Regions from separate parts of the Homo sapiens genome. Here region 1 is linked to region 2. Evidence: promoter capture Hi-C in human tissues and cell types (Jung and others, 2019). All regions are on one chromosome and are shown on one strand. Each heading gives the region's core, a stretch centred on a gene start or on the middle of the fragment in contact. The rest is flanking DNA. Distances are from core to core; before and after follow the strand shown. Region 1 overlaps WWP2 (WW domain containing E3 ubiquitin protein ligase 2). Region 2 holds the start of COG8 (component of oligomeric golgi complex 8).

Region 1 (7,036 bases), core at 2,932-5,431, 520 kb after region 2:
GGAATGTGCCTTTGGAGTTGAAGGAACAGTGGAGAGGCCAGTCCCACTGGAGAGGAAGGGGAAGTGGAGTCATAGGAAGAGATGACACTGGTAAAGGGTGGTGCCAGATCATTCTGATGAATTTCTGCTTTATGTATTTCGAGGTTATTTCATTGGATCTAGAGTACAATTTGACATATGTCTTATGGATGAATAGAACGTTTTGGCCTTATCTTGTTATTCTTGTTTTTAGTGCTTTTTCTCTTAAAATTTATTTGGTCTGAAGCCAGGCACAGTGGTATGTGCCTATAGTCCCAGCCACTGGGGAGGCTGAGCTGGGAGGATTGCTTGAGTCCAGGAGTTCGAGTCTAGCCTGGGCAGCATAACAAGACTCCCATCTCTAAAAAAGATGTATATTTATTTGGTCTGACAAATAAAAAGTAACTTAACAACGTGAATGACTCTTAAAAGTATTAGGCTAAGCTTAAGAAGCCAGACATAGAAGCTTATGTTCTATATGATTCCATTTATATAACATCCTGGAAAAGGCAAAATTCTAGGGACAGAAATCCAATCTGAAGATGTGGGGGCATTGGAGGAGGGATTGACTGCAAAGGGGCACAAGGAAATTTTGGGAGCAATGGGAATGTTCTATGTCTCAGTTGTGGTGATGGTAACACCACTATAAACATTTGGTAAAACTTGCCAAATTGTACCCTTAGAAAGGGTAAATTTTACTCTATGTAAATTATACCTTAATTTTAAAAATCATTAAAAGACCCATTTGGTGGCCAGGTGCGGTGGCTCACGCCTGTAATCCCAGCACTGTGGGAGACTGAGGTGGGTGGATCACGAGGTCGGGAGATCGAGACCATCCTGGCCAACATGGTGAAACCACATCTCACTAAAAATACAAAAATTAGCTGGGTGTGGTGGCATGTGCCTGTAGTCTCAGCTACTCGGGAGGCTGAGGCAGGAGGATTGCTTGAACTTGGGAGGTGGAGGTTGCAGTGAGCTGAGATCACGCCACTGCACTCCAGCCTGGGTGACAGAGGGAGACTCTATCTCAAAAATAAAAAATAAAAAAAAAATACAACAACAACAACAAAACCCGTTTGGTGTGACGTTAACCTAACTATCCCAGCTTCCTTTTGTTTTGTGTCCACTTGGCATATTTTTTTCCCTATTCATTTCATTTTAACCTATTTGGTACTTATATTTTAGGTAGTGTTTTTTTGTAACAGCATTTAACTAGAGTTTTAAAAAACCATATGATTTTAAACTGTCACAGTTCATTTATGTTTCTCGTGATTCTTGATATCTTTAGAGTTGTTTTCTTCCTCTTGTTAATTTCTGTCTGTCCTACAGTTTCTGTTTCCCATCTTTGACTAACTTTCCACTTTTTTTACTTTTTTTGAGACAGAGTCTCACTCTGTCGCTCAGGCTGGAGTGCAGTGGCGCCATCTCGGCTCATTGCAACCTCTGCCTCTGGGGTTCAAGCGATTCTCCTGCCTCAGCCTCCCGAGTAGCTGGGCGCGCTCCACCACGCTCAGCTAGTTTTTGTATTTTTAGTAGAGATGGGGTTTCACCTGTTGGCCAGGCTGGTCTCGAACTCCTGACCTCGTGATCCACCTGCCTTGGCCTCCCAAAGTGCTGGGATTACAGGTGTGAGCCACCACGCCTGGCGTAACTTTCCACTTTCCACTGTGTTTGGTCTGCCTTTTCAAGAAAAGTCTTGATGGGTTGAAGGTATCTTTGGCTCCCTGACTATTTGATAATGGAGTGTGAAATTCTGCATCCAGTGGTGTGAAGAGAGCAAGAGCTCATTGACTGGCTCCCGGCCTGAAGGTTTTCTGTTTGGCCTTATGCTGAGTTTTATATACAGCATGTCTATATTTTGGGTCTACTTTGTGTGTTTTGTGTTTTCAAATGGCCTTTGAAGGTCAACTCTTTTTTTTTTTTTTTTTTTTTTTTGAGACAGGGTTTCGCTCTGTCACCCAGGCTGGAGTGCAGTGGCACAATCACAGCTCACTGCAGCCTCGACCTCCCAGGCTCAAGTGATCTTCCCACCTCAGTCTCCCAGGTAGCTGAGACTACAGGTGTGCGCCACCATGCCTGGCTAATTTTTAAATTTTTTTTTGTAGTGACAGTGTCTTCCTGTGTTGCCTAGTCTGGTCTTGGATCCTCTTTCCTCAGCCTCCCAAAGTGTTGGGATTATAGGCGTAAGCTACCGCATCCGGCCTAACAGTACAACTCTATAACGACAAAATGACACAAAGAAAATTTAATGAAATTAGTGAAAACCTAGAGTAGGATGTGGTGCAGATACTCATTATTTTGTAGTGGAGAATGGGAGATTAGGGCCCGGTTGGTTTTGTTCCTTTTCTTTGAAATTTTACCTTTAGAACCAGTAAAAAAAAAAAGTTTTCTTTTAAATAAAGTTATACATTTTTCTTTACACTTAGAAAAAGGATGATGAATTGGAGACTTCCGAGGAGTTATTTCTTCCACCTGGTTTGTGGTTTTTTTGGGGAGGAAGGGGCTTGGGGGAAGTGGTGCTGAAGCTTTCACTCAAACACCAGGCCACGGCTCTGTGTGCCTCATTCATCTTTGTGTCCCCAGCAGGACCTAGAATAGTGCCTCACTGCACGTAGTAGCAGCTCAATAAATATTTGCTGAGCTGAAAGAGTCTCGTGTTCCTGCTCTTCATTCGCCAAAACTTCTGGGTGGGTCATGTTGCTGGTTTACGTTCCCTGGCGCCTTGACTCCTGAGATGCGATAATTTGAGGACCACAGAGAAGAGGGGGCGCCCTTTATCACAGCCGCCTTGTGCTTGCAAGGTGAACCACCAAGAGTGTGCTGGGGTCCCACTGCCTGCACAGTCTCTGTGGCTTCATCTGTTTTTTTCTTCATGATTGATATTTCTGTGTTGAATGCTTTTCACCGACTGTTCTTTTCAAATCCTTGCAGCTTTTAAGGTTAGTATTGGAATCAGAGAAGAATTGACACATAAATAAGTCTTGTTTGGGAAAAGAAGGTGTAAAGTCCGTGTACTTCAACTCTGCCAGAAAAGAATGTTACTTACCCTCTAAGAATAGGTAATATCTCATTTATACTAGGTGTTCAAATTCCCAAGTGATTATTGAATCTTAGGATTGAGTGTCTCCTTGAGGACATTAGGATCACTGGAATGCTGCTCCTTCGACATGGGCACTGGATCCCACAGAGTGATGCCATAACTGTATGAGGGCTGCTGAACTAGACCAGCAAGAACTGGGTCAAGGCTGTTCCCTAGTCATGCATGTATTTGAGAGTTCCATCTTCTACTGTGGAAATTGAATTGTCATTTATTTGCATTCATTTTCTATTGCTCTGTAACAAATCACCACAAACTCAGGGCTTAAAACAACACCATTTATTAGCTCACAGTTCTGTAGGTCATAAGTCCAGGATCACACGGCTGACTTTTCCCTTCAGGGTCTCACAAGGCCAAAATCAAGGCTCTGGCAGGACAACATTCTTATCTGCATACACTGGGGAAGAATTCATATCAAAGGTCATTCAGGGCTGGGCACAGTGGCTCACGCCTGTAATTCCAGCACTTTGGCAGGCTGAGGTGGGCAGATGGCTTGAGTACAGGAGTTTGAGACCAGCCTAAGCAACATAGCCAAACCCCATCTCAACAAAAAAAATACAGAAATTAGCTAGGCATGGTGGCGCATGCCTGTCATCCCGGTTACTCAGGAGGCTGAGGCGGGAGGATCGCTTGAGCCCAGGGAGGTCGAGGATGCAGTGAGCTGTGATTGCACCACTGCACTCCAGCCTGGGCGACAGAGGGAGACCCTGTCTCAAAAAAAAAGAAAAAGAAAAAAAAAGTCATTCAGGTCCTTAGCTGAATTTAGTTATTTGCAGTTGTAGGACTGAGGTGCCCATTCCTTGCTGACCATCAGCGGGGGTCCCTCTCAACTCCTTAAGCTTCCCCCTGGCCCCGACCCCTGCATTCCTTCTCACGGTGCCCCCTCCACCTTCGAGCCAGGAAAGGAGTGTCAGATCTCCCTGTGATTTGAATCTCTCTGATTTTCTCTCCTGCCACCTGCTGGAGAAGGCGCTCTGCTTCCAGGAGGTGATGTGATGCTAATTAGACTGAGAGAGCACCGCCCCCCACCCCCGCCCCGCCCGATGATCCCCTTTCTTAAGGTCTGCTGTGGTACACGACGACATACTTGACGACATACTCAAGGGTGTGGCACCTTGTCATATTCACAGGTTTTAGGCATTGGAGGGGGGCTAGAGTGAGAGGGATGTCATTTTAGAAATTCTCCCCACAGTAGAAAGACTCTCTCTAATGGGCCAGCCATGGTGGCTCAGACCTGTAATCCCAGCACTTTGGGAGGCCGAGGTGGGAGGATCACTTCACCTTAGGAGTTCAAGACCCCCATCGCTATAAAAAAAAATCAAAAAAATTAGCCAGGCGTGGTGGTCCGATTCCATTCTTTAAAGGAGTCGGGGAGGTGATGAGTGACTGGATTGGAAAGAATATGCAAAGTACTGGAGGTTACAGGCCCAAGAGTGATTTTGAACCTGACAGCTTGCATCTTTCCTTCATTCAACAGATATTTCCTGAATCCTACTGTGGGCCAGGCACACACTAGGTGCTGAGTCTCCAGAGGTTCACAAAACAAGACATGATCTCTGCCCTCATGAATGTGTAGTGACACATAGCAGTGCCATAAAGGGAACAATTAGGATGTTATGAGAGAATGAAAGGAAATTTACTGTAGCCTGGGAGATGAGGGACATTTGGACTGAGATTTGGCCTAGGAATTTGGCCACCTGGGTGGAAAGTCCAGGAAGAGAATGCCGGGCAAGTAGATCAGCAAAGGGTCTGACTCTCCCTTGGTAGGGGTCTAGAGAGGTATTTTGAGGGATGTCCATTGAACATATTCTTTTTGGAGCCTGCCTCCGTCCTGCTGAATTCCTGCCTTGTGATTTGTCGTGTCAGAACACTTAGAAATAATGCTCTACCCAGCTCATGCCTCTAATCCCAACACTTTGGGAGGCCGAGGCTGGAGGATTGCTTGAGGCCAGGAGTTTGAGACCAGCCAGGACAACATAGCAAGACTCGATCTCTAGTTAAAAAAAAAAAAAGGAAAGAAAGAACACTCTAATATACTGTAGTCCCCCATTCATTCAAGGTCCTGTGTAGTCCTTTCTGGTCTGGAGCTATAGTAAAAGGAGGCAGTGAGTGGGCCAGATTCAAACAGGGAATGATGCCAGTAGCGAGAAAGTGAAGAGGCTTTTCTGGCGCACCTGTACAGGTTGTGCTCTGCATTCCTTGGGGGCCAGCCCCATGGAGATTCCTCCTGTGCACAGTGGAGGTTGATGGGGATGCTCATCTCCTAAGCGGCAACAGTGTCCTATGCACTCATAATTCAGGGTCAGGGGATCTCAGGTCATAGGACAAATCACAGGCTGCTGTCTCTGTTCAGGGTACCTCAAGCCATCAATGGCCACGTTGAGCAGGTGAACACTTCCCCTCTGAACTCTCTAGCTCTCTTTGAAGTTTGGGAGGGCATTTGAGCACTCTTCTCAGCTAAGCCCAACATACGGCCTGGAAGTAGATTGGACAAGTCACCATTTACTATACCTTCTCTCTCAAGGTGAGTTTTTTTAGTCTAATGAAATTGCCACCTTTGAGAAGGTTGCTCTGTACTCTAGGGTGCGCAAAAGGAAATTGTTTGTCTTCCGGAAGTCTTTCTGTAATTTAGAATGGACTTGGCAGCGATTTTATTTTTACCTTCCCTGTCATTTGTGAGGCTGGCAGTCCAGAGGTAGGGTGTGGAATGGAGCCGTAAATTGCGCTTGCAGTGACCAGAAGGGGCCCATTTTAACTCTAATTGTGCCTTTCCCGGTTCACTTCTCCTTTTACCCGCCCTCTCCTTTTTTTTTTTTTTTCTAATCCACATTTGAGTGGGGAGGAAGAATTGAGGGGGGTGCAGGTGGGAGTAGGTTTATTTATTGGCGCTTCTCTGGGTGGTGGACACTGTTTCTTTTCCCATTACGGCTTCCTTTTTTATTTTTTCATGCTTCTATTTTAAGTGCCTGTTTCTTTCTGGTTCTGTCTTGCTGGAAACTGGCCCAGCTCCACTGAATTTTTTTTTCCATGCAGCTATTAAAAGACAATGACCAGTTAAGAGTGTGCTCAGAGGAAGGACAGACTTGAGGTGGGGAGCCCTCTTGGTTCTAGTAATCCTAGGCAAATACCGCTTACCCGGATTGGAATGTGAGAGGAGTTTTATTAGGTAATTTTACTTTTTGTGCCTGTTTTATAGGAGGAAAATCAATAATCAGGTTGTTTTGTTTTGTTTGTTTGTTTTGAGACAGACTTTCGCTCTTGTTGCCCCGGCTGGAGTGCAATGGTGTGATCTCGGCACACTGCAACCTCAGCCTCCAGGGTTCAAGTGATTCTCTTGCCTCAGCCTCCTGAGTAGCTGGGATTACAGGCATTCGCCACCATGCCCGGCTAATTTTGTATTTTTAGTAGACACGGGATTTCTCCATGTTGGTCAGACAGGTCTGGAAGTCCCGACCTCAGGTGATCCACTCACCTCGGCCTCCCAAAGTGCTGGGATTACAGGCGTGAGCTACCGCGCCTGGCCCTTGTTTTGTTTTTTTGAGATGGAGTCTCGCTGTGTCACCTAGGCTGGAGCGCAGCAGCAGGATCTCTCTCAGCTCACTGCAGCCTCCATTCCCCAGGCTGGTCTCGAACTCCTGACCTCAGGCAATCCAACCACCTCGGCCTTCCAAAGTGCTGGGATTACAGGCATGAGCCACCATGCCTGGCCAGTAATCAGTTTTTATACCTTGAAACTTCTCTTTTGCTGAACTTGAATACCAGTGGGCCTGAATCTGGGGTCAATGAACCTCCCTTTCATATTCTGGGCCTCTTTTACCAAGATAGAAAAGTATGCTTGGAACCTGGTATCCAGCCAGCCATGAATTCTTTTTTTTTTTTTTTTTTTTTTTTTTGGAAACAGGGTCTCTTGCTCTATTGCCC
Region 2 (7,317 bases), core at 4,807-7,306:
CTGTGCTGGATCCAGGAAAATGAAGCAAAACTATACAAGCTTTCTACTAAGCCCCGAGGTTTCAGAAAGCTAGAACCACTGGAAAACTGTAAGAAAACAGCTAGGAAAGAGAAGTTTCAAAACCAACAGAGCAGCCTAGCTGACACTACAGATATGTGGCATAGCGACAGGGTAAGAACACAGACTCTGATGCTGGACTTCCCAAGTTCAAGTGACTCACACCTGTAATCCCACACTTTGAGGGTCTGTAGCAGGAGGATCACTTGAGTCCAGGAGTTTGAGACCAGCCTAGGCAACATAGGGAGACACTATCTCTCTGTAAAATAAAACACTTTTAACAATAAAAATAAAAGAATATGCTAAAGGTAAAGGGTTTTGTAGATGTAATTAAAGTCCCTAATCATCTGACTTAATCAAATGAAGTTTTTAAAAGGAGGTACCTAAAAGAAGAGACTCAAGAGAGTAGCTCTCCTGCTGGCCTTGAGGAAGCAAACAGCCATGTTGTCAGCTGCCTATGGAGTGGACAGCCTCTAGGAGCTGAGGCTTCAGTTCTGCAATTGCAAAGAACTGACCCCTGCCAACTTGCATGAGTCTGAAATGGAGCCCCAACCTCCAGATGAGGCCATAGTCCAGCCAACACCTTGATGGCAACCCTGTAAGACCCTGAGCAGAGAGGACCCGGTTGTGCTGTGCCTGGACTCCTGACCCACCAAAACTGGAAGGTAATAAATGTGTTGCTGGAAGCTACTAAGTTTGTGGAAATTTGTTATGCAGCACTAGAAAGCTAATACGTGTATTACCGAATTGTTACTATAGGCAAATCACTTCATGGACTGTCCTAGGTCCCATGAAGGGCAACTGGCCAGAGCTTCTCAATCAGGAGAACCTCCAAAACCACACTAGACCTCTCCATGTCAGCAGACACCGTCAAATAGACGGGTTTATTACAAAAATCTGGCCACCCATTACCAGAGAAGGCCCAGGGTAGCAGAAAACCAACAGAATGTGCTCACCTTGGCAAGGGCATCTTCCAAGGCCCCAGTCACATCCTGCGCCAGGGCCACAGGGCAGCAGAGGCGCAGATCATTGAAGGCAACCAGAATATTGTTGAGAAAGCAGGCGAGGGGTGGGAAATCTAGGAGCACCATGGGTGGCTGCAGCGTCCCCGGCTGGGTGGCTGGCACAGCAGCAGGCATGTTACTGGTGCCCAGGATGGCTGGAGCCGAGATGAGCATGTAGGAGTTCATTTCTTCCTGGAATTTCTCCACTGTTTCCTGAATTGCTTTCTGGAAAGTGCTGATGGCCACCCGCTGGAAAACAGGAGCCAACTGACCCCGGAAATCAGCTCCCACCCGGCTGAAGGACAGCCCAAAGTACATGCACTGGCCCAGCAGAGAGTCCAGGTGGCCGCCTATGCCCCGGTAAAGGTCGGTCTCCAGCACCTGCAGGAATTGTGAGACCTTCTGTAGCACCCAGCCATGGAAGATGGCACTCTCATTCACAGTGTGCTCACCCATGGCAGGGGGCAGCAGTGGGTCCTCGTCTGAGAAGATGGCACGGTACTGGGTGATGATATCAAAGAGATGGACACGGGAGGCCTCGATGGTTTTTGTAATATGGAAATAGGGATCATCATTAGGAATGGCAGTCAGGATGGACCGGAGCCAAGCATCTCGGGCCTGAAGAAACTTCACCCTCAACTCAGCCTCAGTGAAGACGTCCATGCGCCGCAGGTAGCCAATGACACGGAGGCAGGCAGGAAGCTGGATGTTGGTCCTCAGTTGCTGGATCAGCTGGCTCAGCATCAGCTGCATGGACTGGCGCACTTCGTTCACGATGCCCTGACAATACACAGAGAGAGTCACACTGCGCTGGGAAGGATGCTCTCTAGAACCCATTCCCCTAACTCTGAAGACTGCAGACCAACATTCCCATGGCTTTCCTGAAATGTGAAGTAATTTCCTAAAGCTGATGCCTGTAGGTTCACCAACAAAGATCAGGTTAGTTAACTCTCTTGCTTAAAAAGCTTAAAACCTGGCCAGGTGCAGTGGCTCAAACCTGTAATCCCAGCACCGTGGGCAGGCAGGTCACTTGAGGTCAGGAGTTTGAGACCAATCTGGCCAACATGTGAAACCTCGTCTCTACTAAAAATATAAAAATCAGGTGGGTGTGGTGGTGCAGGCCTGTAATCCCGGTTACTCGGGAGGCAGAGGCAGGAGAATCACTTGAACCCGGGAGATAAAGGTTGCAGTGAGCCAAGGTCGCACCACTGCACTCCAGCCTGGGGGACAGAGCGAGACTCTGTCTCAAAAAAAAAAAAGAAAAAAAAAAAAGCTTAAAATCCTCCAGTGACTTCCCACTGCAATCAAGAAAATTCCAACCACTTGTTGGGACTTACACTGGTGGCCCTACCTGGCTCTCCATCTTCACCTGCTTCCTAGTGCTCTCCCGCTGCTACAATCCATTAACCCTGGCTGCCTCTGTATCCCTTAAACACCTCAATTTCTGCCCACTTCAGCCCTCTCTACTTGTTCTTCACACTTTCTGGTTTGCTCTCTCCCCAGATCTTTGTGGGCTGGCACCTCCTTCTCATTTAGGTCTCAGCTTAAATGTTACCTCCCTAGAAGAGTCCTTCTTGATCACCCTACCTAAAGAAACCTACCCTAGACTCCCTTACCCCATTCCCTGTTTTTTTCTTCAGACACCACTATCTGAAATGATATCATTTCTTTGTCAATTATCAGACTTCCCATTAGCACGTAAGCTGCATGAGAGCCAGGACCACTTTATTCACACTGTATCCCCAGCATATAGAGCAGTGCTTGGCACATGATTAATATGTATTTTGAATAAATGAATGTTTTCTGTTCAGGCATACCTGGCTGGCAGAAACTGATGTGAAACATGCAAGAGTTTCTACCTAAAGCTTCAGTCCTGACCACAGAATAAATGATTACAAGAACATTACTTTGAGTCCTCTCTGGGCAAGGTGGCTACCTGGATGACAGGGATGGAAGAGTATTTCCTCTCCAGTCGGCGTACGTAGGCTGCAAGCTCCAGGGCCTCTTCATAATAACTGTTCCGGACACAGGTGTCCATGAGCTGAGGAATCTCCAGTATTTCCAAAATTTCTGTGTGCCGGTTTAGGGTCAGGCTATTCATCCGGCGGTTGGAGCTGATCTCCTCGGCTTCCTTCACAAAGTTCCTAGTAATAATCAGAAGAATGTTGATCCTTCACTGCTCTGTACCCAAACCTTAGCTACAGTTACCAAGTACCTGCTATGAACATTGGGCTGGATGATCTATCTGATTTATTCCTCACACCCCACCTATAAGGTAAGTATTATTACAATTGAGGAAATTTTTAATCCCAGAGAGGTTAAGCAACTTGTCCAAAAACATACAATTAATAAATCTAACAGATGGAGATCCAGATATGCCACTTGCTGGCTGTGGCAAGGTACTTGGCCTCTCTGAACCTATTTCCTCATTAGTAAAACGGTATATAGGGCCAGGCGCAGTGGCTCACGCCTGTAATCCCAGCACTTTGGGAGGCTGAGGTGGGCGGATCACTTGAGGCCAGGAGTTCAAGTGAAACCCCATCTCTACTAAAAATACAAAAAATTAGCCAGGCATGGTGGTGCGCGCCTGTAGTCCCAGCTACTCAGGAGGCTGAGGCAGGAGAATCACTTGAACCCAGGAGGTGGAGGTTGCGGTGAGCAGAGATGGCGCCACTGCACTGCAGCCTGGCCAACAAAGCAAGACTCCGTCTCAAAAAAAAAAAAAAAAAAAGTATATAGGACCCTCCTCATAAGGGTGTAAGAACTAAATGAGATGATGTGTGTGAAGCATTTAACATAGAACTTGAAACAGAGCGAATGCGTCAAAGTAAAAATAGTAAAAGAGACACAGTTAAATATTTAACAGTAGCTATCATTATTTTCAAAATGAAGCACTAACTGCCTAGAATCCACAATCTTTCCCCTCAGGTCTTCATCTTCTCCTATGCTAATGTTCAACCATAGTTCCTGCCACAGTCTACTTTCAACACTTCTCCATATTTGCAGAGACCTGCTTTATCAAGTCCCCTATCTATTCTGGAGCATGGAAGGGTACAAAAGCTGCTGTCAAATATCCAAAGGCTCAAAAGAAAAATTAAACTTTAATCATGAAAGGCTGGAAGGCAGAACTAGGGATAATGGAGACAGAATATGACTCACAAAGGACTTTTTTTTTTTTTTTTGAGACGGAGTCTTGCTCTGTCACCAGGCTGGAGTGCAGTGGCACGCATCATCTTGGCTCACTGCAACCTCCGCTTCTCAGGTTCAAGTAATTCTCCTGCCTCAGCCTCCCGAGTAGCTGGGACTACAAGCGCGTGCCACCACGCCCAGCTAATTGTATTTTTAGTAGACATGGGGGTTTCAGCATGTTAGCCAGGATGGCCTCGATCTCTTGACCTCGTGATCCGCCTGCCTTGGCCTCTCAAAGTGCTGGGATTACAGGTGTGAGCCACCGCACCCAGCCTTTTTTTCTTTTTTTAAGAGAGTTTCACTTTGTCACCCAGTCTGGAATGCAGTGGCACAATCACAGCCCACCGCAGCCTCGACCTCCCAAACTGGAGTGCGGTGGCACAATCATGGCTCACTGCAGCCTCAATCTCCCGGGCCCAACTGACCCCCCCACCTCAACCTCCTGTGTACCTGGGACTACAGGCGCACGCCACCACGACCAGCTAATTTTTTATTTTATAGAGACAGGGTTTTGCCATGTTGGCCAGGCTGCTCTCGAACTCCTGGGTTCAAGCCTCAGGCTCCCAAAGTGCTGGGATTACAGGCTGAGCCACCACATCCAGCCATCCAAATGGAGAGACTTTTTGATATCTGATGCCCTCAAATGCGAGGATTTCCTTGTCACCTTCCCGTCAATGGAAGTTTTGAAGCAGATGACCTCCGGTCCACGCTTTCGTATAAAATAAGTATATAAATGTGCACATATATTCAGCTCACACCTATAATGTTAACTGTGTCAGACCCGATAATAAGAGCTTTGCATGAATCCTTTTTCTTTGTGCCCACAACTGCCCTTCGAGGGAGGGACGTGCTTCTGGGTAACCAGTTCTGAATTCGAAACCTCCTAGCTGTGTCCTTGGACGTCACTAATCTCTGTCTTGACTTGCTCATATGTAAAATGGAAATAACAGGGCTGGGCGCAGTGGATTATGCCTGTAATCCCAGCGCTTTGGGAGGCCGAGGCGGACAGATCACGACATCAAAAGATCGAGACCATCCCAGCCAACATGCTGAAACCCCGTCTCTACTAAAAATCCAAAAAAATTAGCTGGGCGTGGTGGCGCGCGCCTATGGTCCCTGCTACTCAGGAGGCTGAGGCAGGAGAATCGCTTGAACCCAGGAGGCAGAGGTAGGTTGCAGCGAGCCGAGATCTCGCCACTGCACTCCAGCCTGGCGACAGGGCGAGACTCCGTCTCAAAAAAGATAAAAAAGGAATAACAGTACCTATCTCGAAGGCTGTTGTGAGGTTTAAATGGATTAATAAAGCGCTCAGCAGAGAACCTGGAACGTGGTAAACGCTTTATGTGTTAGTTATTTCTACCATCGTAAATGTCAGCTTTTACAGTTATAAAACCCCTTTAGCGCCAGGCGCGTCGCACCTGCAGCTCTGCTGGAAGCTGGGCAAACGGTCGAGCAGGCGGCCGAGCGACGCCTCCACGTCGCCAAACAGGCGGTGGATGCGCTCGGTGCACTCGGCGCCGCGGATGAAGGTCTTGTAGTTAGCGAAGGCCAAGTCGCGCGTCTGCTGCAGCAGCTGCGCCCGCTCCTCCGCCAGGCGCTCGGGCTCGCGCCGCAGCCGCTCCAGCCCCGAGCCGCTCAACTCCCGGAGGTAGCGGCCCACATCGGGCCGCTCGCGCCACTGGGCCTCGGGGAAGCGGTCCCGGAACAGCGACGCCAGGAGCCCTTCATCCTCCACCTCGCCGAGAGCCGCTGCTGTGGCCGTGGCTACCGATGGGATAGTCGCCGCGGTCGCCATCTTCCCAGCAACAACGTCACTTCCCTTCCGGACCACAAGGGGCGCTGACTCCGAACTTAGGACAGGAAGAAACAGGCACATTTCCGGTCTCTATGCTTTCTCATCCGGCCGGCTTGCTTTCCCCTGCGGTCGTCCAGACTATTGGGCGCTAGCGAGACGAACTATTGGTACGGGGCTAGAGAGGAAGGCTTTGGGATTGCCGGGGAGCAGCGAGCGACCGACTTCCGTTTCCAGTTACCAAGGCACGAGGATCCGGTGTTCCAACCCAGGGGGAAAAATGCGGCCTTTGACTGAAGAGGAGACCCGTGTCATGTTTGAGAAGATAGCGAAATAGTAGGAGCGCGCGGGGCGGACGCGGGAGTGTGTGGGTGTGGTGGCCAAGGGTGGAGTGGGGGCGCGGTGCCGGAGACCGGTTCGTTCGGGCGCGGTCTCCAGTCCTCTTTTTGCCCTCAGCATTGGGGAGAATCTTCAACTGCTGGTGGACCGGCCCGATGGCACCTACTGTTTCCGTCTGCACAACGACCGGGTGTACTATGTGAGGTGAGGCGGGGCCGGGCAGGCAGCATGGACCCAGGGGAGAGGGGTCCTGGGTCCCACGAGCCTCCTTCATCCGCAACCTTGCTCCCCCTTTACCCTTTTAGTGAGAAGATTATGAAGCTGGCCGCCAATATTTCCGGGGACAAGCTGGTGTCGCTGGGGACCTGCTTTGGAAAATTCACTAAAACCCACAAGTTTCGGTTGCACGTCACAGCTCTGGATTACCTTGCACCTTATGCCAAGGTTTGTGGGGCGGTTTCCAATTCTGCCACGGGCGATGAAGTCAAGGATTAGGCAGATTGTCCGGCAGCTTCTCTCCCACAGAGTCCCTGACAGTGTGCTTGGAGGAGTTTCAGCACATGGAGATGTGTAGAGGTCTTGCAGCTTGAGCATGGTCAGGGCTATGGGATAGGAATGCTATGTGGCTGCGTAGGGTTAGTTTTCTCCAGCGAAGTAGAAGAGCCTAGGGAGACCCAGCTAGAGATCAGAAAGCAAATAAGTGGCAGCAATGAAGACACCGGGGTCCAGAAAAAGAGCTGTTAACCTGGCCATGGAGGATGATCCTTGTAGAGTTGAGAAAATAACTTTTTCTATTTTTTTCTTTTTCTTTCTTGCTCTGTTTTTTCTTTTCATTTCTCTTTCTCTTTCTTCCTGACACAGTTTCACTCTGTCGCCCAGGCTAGAGTGCAGTGGTGCGATCTCACTGCAGCCTCCACTTTCCAGTTTCCAGTGATT

Evidence for each region. Contacts are between HindIII fragments. The study calls those that stand out against the background at their distance.
Region 1: a fragment that was not itself captured here is called in contact with the fragment with the promoter of COG8 in region 2 in 2 of the 25 tissues and cell types used here (dorsolateral prefrontal cortex and lymphoblastoid cells).

The regions. Positions count from the first base shown.
Region 1 is chr16:69,855,727-69,862,762 of GRCh38, forward strand. All of the region lies in intron 6 of WWP2 (WW domain containing E3 ubiquitin protein ligase 2), which reads left to right. Among named protein-coding and RNA genes, the nearest start is that of MIR140, 74 kb to the right of the region's middle. The HindIII fragment of the contact is 7,416 bases long and covers 474-7,036 here.
Region 2 is chr16:69,333,508-69,340,824 of GRCh38, forward strand. It overlaps COG8 (component of oligomeric golgi complex 8), which reads right to left and starts at 6,057. Exons shown (of 6, transcript NM_032382.5): 1 at 5,669-6,057; 2 at 2,998-3,205; 3 at 1,014-1,841. The coding sequence starts at 6,045. NIP7 (nucleolar pre-rRNA processing protein NIP7) reads left to right here and starts at 6,265. Exons shown (of 5, transcript NM_016101.5): 1 at 6,265-6,378; 2 at 6,499-6,585; 3 at 6,687-6,825. The coding sequence starts at 6,323. RefSeq lists silencers at 5,734-5,783, 5,794-5,843 and enhancers at 6,264-6,383, 6,564-6,643. The HindIII fragment of the contact is 18,932 bases long and covers 2,631-7,317 here.